2 separate regions of the Homo sapiens genome follow, and region 1 is linked to region 2. Evidence: promoter capture Hi-C in 16 types of primary human blood cells and fetal thymus (Javierre and others, 2016). All regions are on one chromosome and are shown on one strand. Each heading gives the region's core, a stretch centred on a gene start or on the middle of the fragment in contact. The rest is flanking DNA. Distances are from core to core; before and after follow the strand shown.

The links. The method cuts DNA at HindIII sites, captures the fragments that hold promoters and counts their contacts. A CHiCAGO score of 5 or more calls a contact.
Region 1: a contact is called between a fragment that was not itself captured here and the fragment with the promoter of CHI3L1 in region 2, in 7 of 17 cell types (M0 macrophages, M1 macrophages, M2 macrophages and 4 more). The highest score is 10.1, in M0 macrophages.

The regions. Positions count from the first base shown.
Region 1 is chr1:203,039,159-203,045,393 of GRCh38, reverse strand. It overlaps PPFIA4 (PPFI scaffold protein A4), which reads right to left. Exons shown (of 30, transcript NM_001304331.2): 2 at 6,152-6,235; 3 at 1,896-1,997; 4 at 1,299-1,463; 5 at 941-1,015; 6 at 609-698; 7 at 1-26. Among named protein-coding and RNA genes, the nearest start is that of PPFIA4, 16 kb to the right of the region's middle. RefSeq lists enhancers at 1-579, 3,298-3,797, 3,798-4,299, 5,981-6,140 and a silencer at 559-853. The HindIII fragment of the contact is 5,958 bases long and covers 1-4,506 here.
Region 2 is chr1:203,185,390-203,191,713 of GRCh38, reverse strand. It overlaps CHI3L1 (chitinase 3 like 1), which reads left to right and starts at 5,010. Exons shown (of 10, transcript NM_001276.4): 1 at 5,010-5,115; 2 at 5,369-5,398. The coding sequence starts at 5,091. The HindIII fragment of the contact is 7,916 bases long and covers 2,174-6,324 here.

The DNA.
Region 1 (6,235 bases), core at 278-2,777, 140 kb after region 2:
AGCTCCTCTACCCGGCCCGTATCCTCCTCCAGGGATAGGGACAGTAGCTCTGTGAGTCACAGCAGCATCCCACCCACCCCACTCCCCTATCCCAGGGGTGGAAGGAGGAACAGCACACCCAGAGCAGGTCAAGGCTCTGCCCCCAACATCACAGCACTCCTCTGGCTACAACTGCCTCCCTCTGGGCCCCAGGAGGTCACTCCTGACAATGACCAAACACCTTGCTATCCTTTGTCTCTCTTGAAAACAAGTTTCTAGTTTTATCTGCTATGCCAGCCTCTTGTAACCCAGAAAGGGGCGTGACTGGGGGAACAAAGGTTCAGACAGAGAAGGAATCTTGCCTGATGCTGCCACATGAGGCAGATGGTGCCTAACAATTCAAGCAGACAAGCGTATGATGTGCCCAGCATGTGTTGGGCACTAAAATAAAAATCTACAGATTTCATTGCAGATGGGGTAGGGAGAAGAAGAAAAGAGAAGGGGGAATATCAGAGAAAGCCTCAAATTTAATTCAAGCAGTTAGTCTACTGAACTAAGGCAGAGCCGGGCCTCCAACCTCCCACCTTGGGGAACACATGACCCCTGCTACACAGCTCTCCATGACCTACCTTCCACAGGCGTTTCGGCCCCAGCTCCACAGTCCCCTCCTCTTCTGCCGCTCCATCCCGCACCCCTGCCCCCTGCTGCAGGGCAGACACCTGTAGGGCACAAGCCCCAGGGCAATGAGTCAAAGAGAAGAGAACCTCCCATACATTCCAGACCCTTCCAAAGCCCCTGTCTTAGTTAAAAAATGTCTCCTAGAAAGAGGTGCTCAGCCTAGCCTTGCCTAGCAGCTTCCAGCCATGGCAGGGAGAAATCTGACAAGAAACAGAGTAGGGCACAGGGGTGAACCAGCCTGGACTTCCAGGAGCTGCAGACTGAGGGTGAGCAGGCAGATTACCTGCTGGTGGGCACCTGCCAGCTGCTCCTCCAAGGTGGTGACTCGCTCCAGCGCTGCCCGGAGCCGCTCTCGCACCTGCTCGAGGTAAGGGGAGATGGAGGAAGAAAGGGGGACCCCACTTGAGTCAGGCTGGAAGAGACTGGGCTTGGTCTACCACCACTGAGCATGAGGACAGTGAAGGGCCTACTAAGCAGCACATTTGCAGGAGGGAGCCTAACAGGAGGACCTTGAAGTTAAGACAATGTTTGGAGGGAGCCAGTGCTCCCTAAATACCGGATGTGGAAATCTCAGAGAAGGGATACATGGGAGGCTCCAGGGCAGCCTGGCTGGATGTGGGGGCTGGCGGGCAGGTGGGCACCTTCTCATCCAGGGCCTTGTGGTGCTCAAACAGTGACTTGAGGGCCTTCAGCACCTCCACCTCACTGGAGACCCCCGAAGGTGACTGGGCCTGGCGCTTCACCACAGTCATCCGCAGTGACCGTTCATGGCGGGACACCAGGCACTCCAGATGTTCCAGAAGCAGCTGGCAGGGAGAGCAGGGGAGGGTGAGAGGGAGGGCTGTAAGCATGTGCCCCAGGGGCTACAAGCAGGGTCCATGTGATCCCCGAGCAGACATGAGTTACAGCCACCCCACTGTGAAAACACTGAAATACTTCCAAATGGGCACAGAGCTCCCGCCCCAACTGATACTACTCAAGGTGACTGCCCCGGCCTCTCCCCAGGACCCTGAGCTTTCTGTGAACCAGCAACTACAGGTGGAGAGCCCAGCACTGGTGGTTAAACGATGTAACTCTCACCCCAGGATGGGAGACAGGAAGAGGGAAGGATGGGGCTTGAGCTAGGACTGTGCCTGGCCCCACTCTTGCCTGCTCTCTTGGTCAAGGTGTTCACAACACACCCCCATACACACACACACACACGTGCGCGCGCGCGACACAAGGTCATCCCCACTTACCCGTGTGTTATTCCGTTCTGCTTTCAGTTCTGATATCTCTTCCTCCCGCTCTAGAAGCTGCTCCCGACACATGCTCAGCTCCCGGGTTAAGGTGGCAAATTCCTGAAAACCCCCAAGGCCCCTCAGTGCTTCAGGATTCACCCCCAAAGCAGTGTCCTGCACATGCAAGTCAGTGGTGGGATCCTCTCACCCATCCCTTACTTCCACCACCTCCCCCACAAAATCCCAATCCATCCACACTGCAGGTCAGTAAACCTGTAGCTAGCATGTGCTTCTCCAGAGGGGTCCACATCTCTGGGTCCTCCATGCATTCCATGTGTTAGAATCCAAGGGAACAGAGTTGTACACAAGAGTGAGAAAGTCACTGAGTCTGCTCTGCAGACCCTTCCCCATCCAGCCACCAATATGACCAGATTACATCCTCCCTCCCACCTGGCATTTCCATTTCTCCAGGAATTCAATGACATTTTCCTTTAGAAACTGATGGAGGGGAATTCTGCTTCTGGTTTGGTGGATTAAGGTCCAAACAGAAACTGATGGATATGAAAGAGGGAAGAGAAGGCCCAGCACAGTGACTCACGCCTGTAATCCCAACACTTTGGGAGGCTGAGCCGGGCAGATCACCTGAGGTCAGGAGTTTGAGACCAGTCTGGCCAACATGGTGAAACCCTGTCTCGACTAAAAATACAAAAATTAGTCAGACGTGGTGGCGCACACCTGGGTAATTCCAGCTACTCCAGAGGCTGAGGCAGGAGAATCACTTGAACCCGGGAGGCGGAGGTTGCAGTGAGCTGAGGTGGCACCACTGCACTCCAGCCTGGGCGACAGGGTGAGCCTCCGTCTCGAAAAATAAAAATAAATAAATAAAAGAAACAGGGAAGAGAAAGAGCTTTTGAAGATAATGCCTGCATGAGTGCCCCAGGGAGCTCTTCCAGCCCCATCCCAAGGCTTTGCAAACTGCAAGTAGCGGGTGAAATAAGCAGATCAAAGGACCTACCTACATAGGAGCAAGAGAGTATGCAGACCTGCCCAGTCAGGCTTTCTAGGAGCCCTGCTCAACCAAGCAAGGGCTACATCCCAGCTCCTGATGCCAAGGCAGTTGCCCTGGCTTTACCAAATATCCATGTACCAAGTATCACTTCTAGAGGGGCCCATTTCCACACTGTCAGGCCCAGATAACTTCAGAGACCTTGCCAGCCCACCCTCCCCCATCAGGACAAGCATACAGGGGTGAGAGACTGCTCCCACATTCCAGGCTCATCATATCCTGTTTAGCTAAACATCACCTCCTTCCAGGGAGGTTTTCAAATGAGTGGCCCCAACTCTGTGGATGTCCAAGGTCTAAGAGCGATGCAACAGGCCTCATCCCTGTCCTAACCTGCAGCCTCCCTCACACACCAAGGATTCATGACCAAAGGAAGAACTCCCAATCCCCTCTCATCACTCCAGATAGGGCAAAAGGGGCTAGAAGGGTTGTGGGAGGGCAGAAGGGACAAGAGATGCCAGAGCATGAGAAACCATGAACCTCTGACATTATTACTCAATTACTGCCTTTCTGTCAGGGCCATGGCCAAAGGTGGTCAAGGTCAAGCATCTCATACTCCAGAAGCCCAGGCCTGATGCTGTCTCACCCCTCAGCTTATGCACAAACACAGTCACACTTTCACAGGCACACACAGTCATGTACACATGCTTGTAACCAGAGACAGGGCTTGACAGCCTGCCACCCAGCCCTACACCATGACACCACCACCAAAAGGCTGGTGCTGCCCCCTCTCCTGGCCTCAAGCTCAGCAGCTGTCTTATCTCCCCCCACCACAGGATACCTGTCCCCTCCCTTCCACCTCTAACCTATCTGACACCCTGCTGTCTACAAATCTCCCAAAGCACAATGCTGTCTACAAACACAGGAGACGGTCTCCTCTGTCACCCAGGCTGGAGTGCAGTGACTCAATTTCAACTCACTGCAGCCTGGACCTCCTGGGCTCAGGCGATCCTCCCACCTCAGCCCCACGAGTAGCTGGCAGCATAGGCATTTGCCACCATGCCCAGCTAATTTTGGGGATTTTTGTAGAGATGAGGTTTTGCCACATTGCCCAGGCTGATCTTGAACTTCTGACCTCAAGCAGTCCATCCACCTCAGCCTCCTGAAGTGCTGGGATTACAGGAGTGAGGCACTGCACCCAGCCTACAAATACAAACTTCTTATCCTGGTTTTCAAACTTCTCTCTCATGTCATTTCCATATCACCTAAGACCCAGTCAACCTGGATCACCTGCTGCTTCTAAACACCAGCATGCCTTCCTAATATCACATCTTGGCTCAGTGGACTCCCTCCCCCTGGAAAAACCTCTGTCACCACCCGATGAAATCATAATCATCCTTCAAAGCCCATCTCAAAGGATACAGCCTTGCTGGGAGCTGTCCAGACTCCCCACGGGGAGGCTCTCTCCCTCTCCTGAAAGCCATTTGGAGGAGTGGTCAAGAACACCAACTTGGGAGTCCATCATTCAACCACAAATATTTGTGAGCACCTATCATGTACCAGGTCCTGTGCAGATCACTGGGGATATAGTGACAAGAAAGACACAACCCCTGACCTCATGAAGCTTCAGTGTGGGAAGTCAAGTAGGCCTGGGATCAAATCTCAGCTCTGCCCCTGTTAGCTGTATGATCTTGAATAAGTTACCTAATCTCTCTGAGCCTCATTCTCTGATCTGTAAGACAGACGTAACAGTCCTCCCTCCAGGTGCTGGTATGAGAGTCAAATGAGCCAATGTATAGAAAGCACTTAGCCCAAGCCCATCAAAAGCAGCTATTTTTATCACTGATACTGTGCTTAATAACCCTTTTGGGCCTCTCTTATCTTCCTCTGCATTCTCTCCGGTCACATGGGTGGTGTATCTCCTTCCTAGTCTATGAGCTCCTTGGTGGCAGGAACTAGTTCATTCACTCTAGGGCAACTTCAGAGCCTCGTGCACAGTGAAAGAGGAGGTCCCCACCTGCCCACCCAACTGCTTCACCAGGGCTCTGTATTCTTGTCCACCAAGCATCACTTTTGTGTAGGAAACTCACCCACTCAGGCCCAGCCCTTGTTCTCTTCCCCACACACTGGGAAGGGCCTGGCGCTGAGGCTTGAGCTCTTCGGCTCCTCAGGGCTGCCTTCCCAACCCCAGCAGCGCCCCCACTGGGTCAGGGTAGGCTATGCCATGTGTCCACAGCTGGCTTTCAATACCCATCTCTCTGCTCATACGAGGGGCAGAGAGGGCAGGATGTTCCCACAGTCACTGTGAGCACTGTCTCACAGACACACAACCCCCAGCCCTCTCTGGGTCTGGTTATCAGGCAGAGTTCACAGCTTCTTTGACAAGCAGCAGCTAAACAGCCCAAGAACCAAATCATCCAGGCTCCTGCTCCCTCCTGCATTCCCAGAGCATGCGCCATGCCTGGAATATCTACCAAGTGGGTGATAAGCAGGCATCAGCAGGGAGCTCCCAGGCCAATGCAGTGAGGGAGAAATAGGTGCAGTGGTGAGAAACTTAGCCCCAGGCTCAGTTCCTGCCTCCACCACACACTACCTGCATGGCCACGAGCAACTTACTCATCTCCCCAGCTTTAGTTCCGTGATTTGTACAATGGGATGATGGTGGTAACAGCACCAACTTCAGGGTTGTAAGAGTTTAGTGAGAGAATCCTTATAAAGTGCTTGGTCCACAGAAAGGACACAGTACACGGGACTACAGGACAGCTGGTGGTTGTGCTGTTGAGTGTGAGACAGGATGTCGAGACATCTGGCTGCTAGATTCAGCCCTGCCTATCATCTTCCATGTGATGTCTCTTGCTTTTTTGATCTATGCAATAACGGAGCTGGACGAGATGATCTCTAAGAACTCACCCATCTCTACTGTCTGTGATTCCCCACCCACCTCCAAGAATAGGGCACTGGAGAGGAGTACGCAGGGAGGAGGTTTCTTTCCAGTCTAGGGTGCCACCTACTGGCCGCCTGAGCTCACTGTAGCTGACACCTATGGCTGCGTTTTTCTACCCACATCAAATTCCATCCATTTCACCTTCCAGACTGAGGAGCATGGGAGTGACAGGGAAAGAATTCACGTAGAGAGATGAAGGAGAGTAAATGCTCAGTGAATTCCAATTATTGATATGCAAATAGATGCAGATGAGCTGAGGGCCCAGTGGATCTAGCAGGGCTAGAGGAGGGAAAGGGGTTAAGAGAGACGCAGGCCTTCGGGCCTTACCTGGGGGAGGGCGGAGTTAAGGTGGCGCTGGAGCTGGTCCCGCTCGTGTATGGCATCCTGGAGCCGGCTCTGTGTGGCCGCCAA
Region 2 (6,324 bases), core at 3,761-6,260:
GGTACAGGAACCAGGGCAATGGGGTCTTGCAGTTGGGGGGAGAGATTGGGCTCAACTCTAAATACAGCATGGGCAAGTGGAAATCAGTAGCTAAGGACCAGGGGGTCTGTAGACAGAAGTTACTAAGAGGAAACAGGAGTAAGGGGGATTCTGGCTAAACAGACTTAACAGGATTCTTGCTGCAGACAGGCCAGGGTGGTCAGACATCCCCTGGGGCATGATAAAGGACAAGGAACCTGGTCAGATGTCAAGGTATTCAGATGTTGAGGGTAGGGGGTTCTTGCTAAATTGACTTAGCAGGGCTCTTTGCTAAAACTGGATTTTACAAGGAAGTGCACAGATGGGCCTAGGAGAAGATTCAGAAGCCCGCCTGAAATTTGGCCAAGCAAAGAATTTTTGTTATATGATAAGCCACTATTAAGGAATAAAGACTACATTTTACATGTGGAAATGACACCTATGAAGTCCTCTAGAAAACTCTGGTATGGCTTTAGAACTGATGACATTGCAGCCTTAGAGGTAGTAAAATAAATAAATAAATAAATAAATAAATAAATAAATAAAACCTACATTTCCTGGCAGTCTAGGAATATTAACACATATGGGAATCTTAGAGAAAATGGTGCTGATATAATACTTCACACATAAAAGTAATTTCTTCCCAGCCCTAGGGGCTTTACAAAGCCTCCAGACAGAAGCTCACTGTAAAGCATCACTATCATGTGGCTCTGGTTTCGCTAGCCATACAAAAAGAAAGTATTTATTTCATCAACACCTCCTGTTATGTCAATAGAAATAAATTTTGGTCAAATAAAACAAAATATCAATTTGATGATGCTGCATCAGGAAGTTATTAAGCAACATATACGGTTCAACCCATGCCTCAATGGCAAGGACTTGCCCACAAGGAAGGAAAATCCGTAGACGCAAAGCCCAACTCTTCACTCTACTGGCTTCATTCATGACCAAGTACCACTGCGGGGTGGGGATGGGAATAATTTGCATCTGGAGATAAGCCAAGAATAATAGGTTATCCTGAGTGGTTTAAGACACCAAAATAATAAGCCTTGGCTATTTCCCATAAATTTGGATTCCCAGCTGGGTGTGGTTGCACACGCCATTGATCCCAACACTTTGGGAGGCTGAGGCAGGAGGATGGCTTGAGCCCAGAAGGTCGAAGCTGCAGTGAGCCCAGATCACGCCACTGCACTCCAGCCTGGGTGACAGAGTGAGACTCTGTCTCAAAAAGAAAAAAAATTCCCCGAAAAAAACAATTTCATCCCTGATTTTTGCTATGCTGATAAGTGAAGATGTGTTGTAAAAATGATGCTGATCTCCACCAAACGTGATAACCTTGGGTCATTTTTTTTTCCCCTTCAAATACTTGTTGCATTTTGCATTTGACGAGCCAGCCATTCTGAAATCTGACTCGCTTCCGCTTTTCACAAGCAACTGTTTTCTTCTCTAAGTGTTTCTGCCTCTGAGTCTTCGACAGCTTCTACTGTGCGCCAGCACCACCACCGAGCTGAGGATTTGGAGATGATTTGAATTCCTGCCTGGCAGAAGTCCACCCTCTGGAGGAAGAGACTACTTGTAAAAGAGAGAATTCTCCTCAAGCATTTGGTGGGGCATCAACACCACCTCTGTTTGCTCTGACACGCCATGCAAAATGAAGGAATCCTCAAAACCACTGTGCCCAAGGGGCCAGCCCAGGCTCCCAGGAGCTTGTTTTCTGAATGGTGGTAATGTCCACCCTCTGGCTCCTGATCCAGACTCATCTTGTGCCTCCCTCGAGCTCCCTCCTGCTAATTCCATGCCTCAACCACTCTTGAATTCTTCTGGTTCCTGAACATAACAACCTCTTCCTGCTCCAGGTTTTTGCACAATTTTTTTTGTGTGTAGGGGACGGTGGGCAAGGGGCAGACTAACACCTGCCCTTCCTTCGTAATACATTACTTGCTTTTCTTTGTTTAATGTCCATCTTCTTTGCCAGACTGTATGCTTCATGAGGACAGGGACTGCCTCTCTGTTCCCATTCACCTTTCTGTCTCTACTGTCTACCTCAGTGGAAGGCAACTACTCTAGTACACTTACTTAATAAACATTGGTTGAACACTATCAATGTACTGTGGGGCCTAGAAATGTTTGATTAGGGAAATTAAGTCAGGAAGCTTGTTTTGTGGTTTTATGGCACCTCCTGAGTCAGTTCTTCACAGGGTAACAAAAACTATTGAATGAGATGAAATTTTGAGAACATCAGGGTTTAAACTCATAAGAGTGTGAAGTTATGCACCATTTTGAGATCATTTGTTCATTTATTCAACGAGTACTTTACTGAGCATCTACTATGTCTCAAGCACTGGGGATAGATACAAAGGTGGATAAAATGACCCAGCCGTTGCCTTTACTGAGTTTATAGTCTAGTGAGAGAGGCAAACAAAACATCCACTGCCACACACAACATATAAAATTATAACTGAGTCAGGTGTTAAGGAGAGAGGTACAAAGTGCTCTGACAGCCCTATAGCGGGTTTTCTGTCACCTGGAGACTGCCTTTTCTGCAGACAAGGTGACTCCTGAGCTGCAATCTGAAGGATGAGGAAGAATAAAGCAGTCAAAGAAGAGCAGTGTTAGGCTGCAATTCTCCATCCGCAATTCTCCAACCGCAATTCTCCATGGGTTGCCTGCATTTCCTGCACAGCTTATGTGCAGAGGCACTGGCTTCTTTGTTCTAGGCAATCTTTTTAGTGATGTTTGTACAGCAAACAGCCTTGGAAGATAGAAATAGCGTCCCCCCTCCAGACCAAAAGGCAGATTTGTTTACTGTCCAGTAATAAAGATAATGTCTCCCTTATCTTGGGCTGGCCAAGGTGAGGAAGGCTTACTGCTCATCATGAAAGATTTGAGTTCCTTAAACTAGGGATTCCTCTGCTGTGATGTAACTCATTGCATTCATGGCATCTACCTGGGCTCCTCCAACACTGCCCTTGTGAGACCTGAGGGCTAAGGGGAACTGACCCTAACATGAAGTTCATGCTGCTTGCTGTACCATGGATAATAAAGTCCTTTGTCTCTGACCTAGGAGTCTCGTGTCTTCTGCCAACATCCACGAAACTGTAGTTATGTCATTAATTTGCAAGTAGCATAAAATCTCAGATCTTTCATCGTTATTTACAGGCAAGTGGATGTCATATATAAAGGCCCTGTGGCGGGAGTCAGTAGAGCAAATATAAGGATTTAAAAGAAGACATATAAGCATGAGTGGAATATAGGGAGGGTGGGGGTCATGGCCTGAGATAAGGCTGGGAGGTGGTGAGCCTATGAGACCCTTGGCCAATCCTGCTAACACAGGCCTGGGGGTATCTTGGCCATTTGTTGTTACAAAGCTGCCTTCAGGCAGAGCATGTGGAATTAATAAACTGAGCTTGAGGGAGCATAGGACAACAAGGCTTGGGCCAATCTAAGCCTATGAAATAATTTTTAACAAAGGGAGATAGTGAAAATAGGAGGTGTTTTCTTAACATCCTGTGCTCTGTGATGAAAAATTTTGCATCTGCATGCCACTTCATAATATCACTATTAGAAATTAGAAGTCCTCCTCTCAGTGCCCCAAATGAACCAGAAGAAGCTATCATTGACTGTCATTGCTGTCAATCATCTTGGGTACAAAAGGAGGCAGTCATCTTAAAAAGGAAAAGTGATGCCTCTTTAGTATTCACCGAGCGTGATTCTGGACAAGCCACTTTTTGTCCACCTCTCTTACAATGAAGGGAAGGCACTGGCTGAGTTTTAAAGGAAGAGAAAGGGAGAGAGGGAGAGAAGAGGGAGAGAGCAGAGAGACCTCACCGAGAGAGCTGCAAAACCAGCCTGGAAAAATTAGAGTATTACCTAACATTAGTGAAAAATAAAGGTACTTTCTTGAGAAGCCCTTGGACCCATTCTGCCTCTTGGAGTTCTGAACTTTTCACTCACTGCCTATTAATTAATGTTAAGCCTGCAAAGAATGGAGTTGTCCTGGATATTTGGCCAAAAAAAAAATGTATCCACAAACAGGGACGTAATCAGGCAGGGAGCCTCGTTAAGAAGTTTTGTTCTTGTCCTAGGAGTGATGAGAGATCACTGAAGGATTTAGAGAGGGGCTGTATCATCAGGCTTGGGTTCCAAAGCCTCACTGAGAGAGTTGGGGAGCTGACTGATGTCAGATGCTCGTGCAGCCGCCCCGTAGGGCCTGTATTTCCTCCATGGTGCCTCACTGCAGCACCGAGCTTGCAAAAGATCCTCTCTCTTTATGGGAATTTCAAAACAGAAGCAAAATAGCACCGGGGCTTAAAGCATTCTTGGGAATTTCCCTGTCTTTCCCTCTAAATAATCAGCATGTAAATTGCAAAAAAAAAAAAAAAAAAAAAAAAAAAGACACGGGCCCAAAAGGGAGCGCTCAGTTTCAGGCTCTTTGCTTTCCTTCCTCCCGAGGCTCTCTGGCCCTTACCCAGCCTGAAGACAGAAAGTGTGAGGGGGAGGGTAGGAAGGTAGGTCAAGCAGGGCAATGCTGAGCCTGGGAAGAAAACAACAGCCTTGTTTAGGGCACTGTGGCTTACGTAACTAAATTGTGCCCAGTTTCCACCTGGCCAGGGGCCTGGAGTGAATGCTGAAGATGCAAAGGTAGAGGCTGCCAGAAAAGCCAGGAAATTGCTGGCAAGAAAGGCCAGTGGTGGGGTGCAGGAGTGGGAGGAAGGCTGGGAAATGCGGCTGAGTCACATCTCCAGAAGCCCCCCATCATCACCCTAGTGGCTCTTCTGCTGGCAGGTGCCTCATGAAGACCTGACCCAAAGTTTTCAAAACTCTGCGGTTTCTCAACCCTCCTCTGGTAATCCATAGTACTCCCCCGCCTCCACTTGCCAGCCTCGTGATTCCTTCATTGACACATAGCTCAGTTCCCATAAAAGGGCTGGTTTGCCGCGTCGGGGAGTGGAGTGGGACAGGTATATAAAGGAAGTACAGGGCCTGGGGAAGAGGCCCTGTCTAGGTAGCTGGCACCAGGAGCCGTGGGCAAGGGAAGAGGCCACACCCTGCCCTGCTCTGCTGCAGCCAGAATGGGTGTGAAGGCGTCTCAAACAGGTATCTGGGCTAGCCAAGGTTAATCCATCAGAGTTGTGGGTTTTCAGGCCCAGACAGCCCGCAGAGCCATCTGCCTGCTGGGTGAGGGACTAAGGGAGTGGGCAGAGGGGGAGGAGAAGCAGAGCCAGGGGAGGGACTGAGGCTGCAACCAGGAGGTGGGGGTGGGGGAGGTGGGTCTCAGTTGCTTGGGGGAGGGAGCAGGGCGGAAGGGCAGGATGCACTTGCAGGGGTCTCATCCTGGATTTCTCTTCAGGCTTTGTGGTCCTGGTGCTGCTCCAGTGCTGTGAGTAATCCCTCCACCTCCACTTTTAAGTCCAGAGGCGTGGCGAGGGCACAGGGCAGGTGTGGAGGAGGTCTTAGCTCCAAGGGAACACTTTGCCAGGTTCTTCTGTGCTTCCAATGACTTCGAAATAGTCACGTTTGCTAAACTGGAGTGAGGAGTATATGGATGTTTATTTTGCTATACTCTTTGGTATATGTGAAAATTCTCAAAATAAGAAACTTTAAAAGGTCCTGGTTCAGTGAAGGCTTTGACTAACAGCCCCTGGGAGCCGCTAGTACAGTTGCCCAGTAGCTGCTTGGATGAGTGATGCCCACATTGTTTGCAGCAGGAGAAACAGAATTAGAGGCGAGGAAGGATTTCCTGGTCCATTGTGATATTGTGCCCCAGCCTGGGGGACATGCCGAGGGAGCACAGGACTGCCATTCCGGGTGGGTTACAAGTTAGAGGCACTCTCACCAGGAGGCAGAGAAAGGTGGGCCAGAGTCCCTCATGGATGAAGGACCTCACTGCAGGTCACTAAAGGTGCCAGCCTGAAAGCCAGGGCCATCTGTGACACAGGCTATCTTGGGCCTTCCCCTCCCACAAAGCCACTGCTTCCAGGAAGCCTGCTGTGCTGGCACCAAGTCCCATTTCATCCTTATTCCCCAGCTCCTACCCTTCCCCCACACAGTGCCTGTAGCGTATTCATCCCCTGCATTGGATCTTTTCTAAGCATTTTCAGAATAGGCCTTATTTTCACCAGTCAGGGAACTCCCCAGAGGCAGGGGGACCTGAACCAGCTCCTTTCATTTAAGAATTCTGACTTTGCTCACAATCTGCACCCCACTCCTCCCTACCCAACCCCACACCCCATTGGTGCTCAGCTCTGGGCTCAGCCTGAGGTCTCTTGCCGAATCCTGGCCCGGGCCCCATCCCAGACTTCTCCT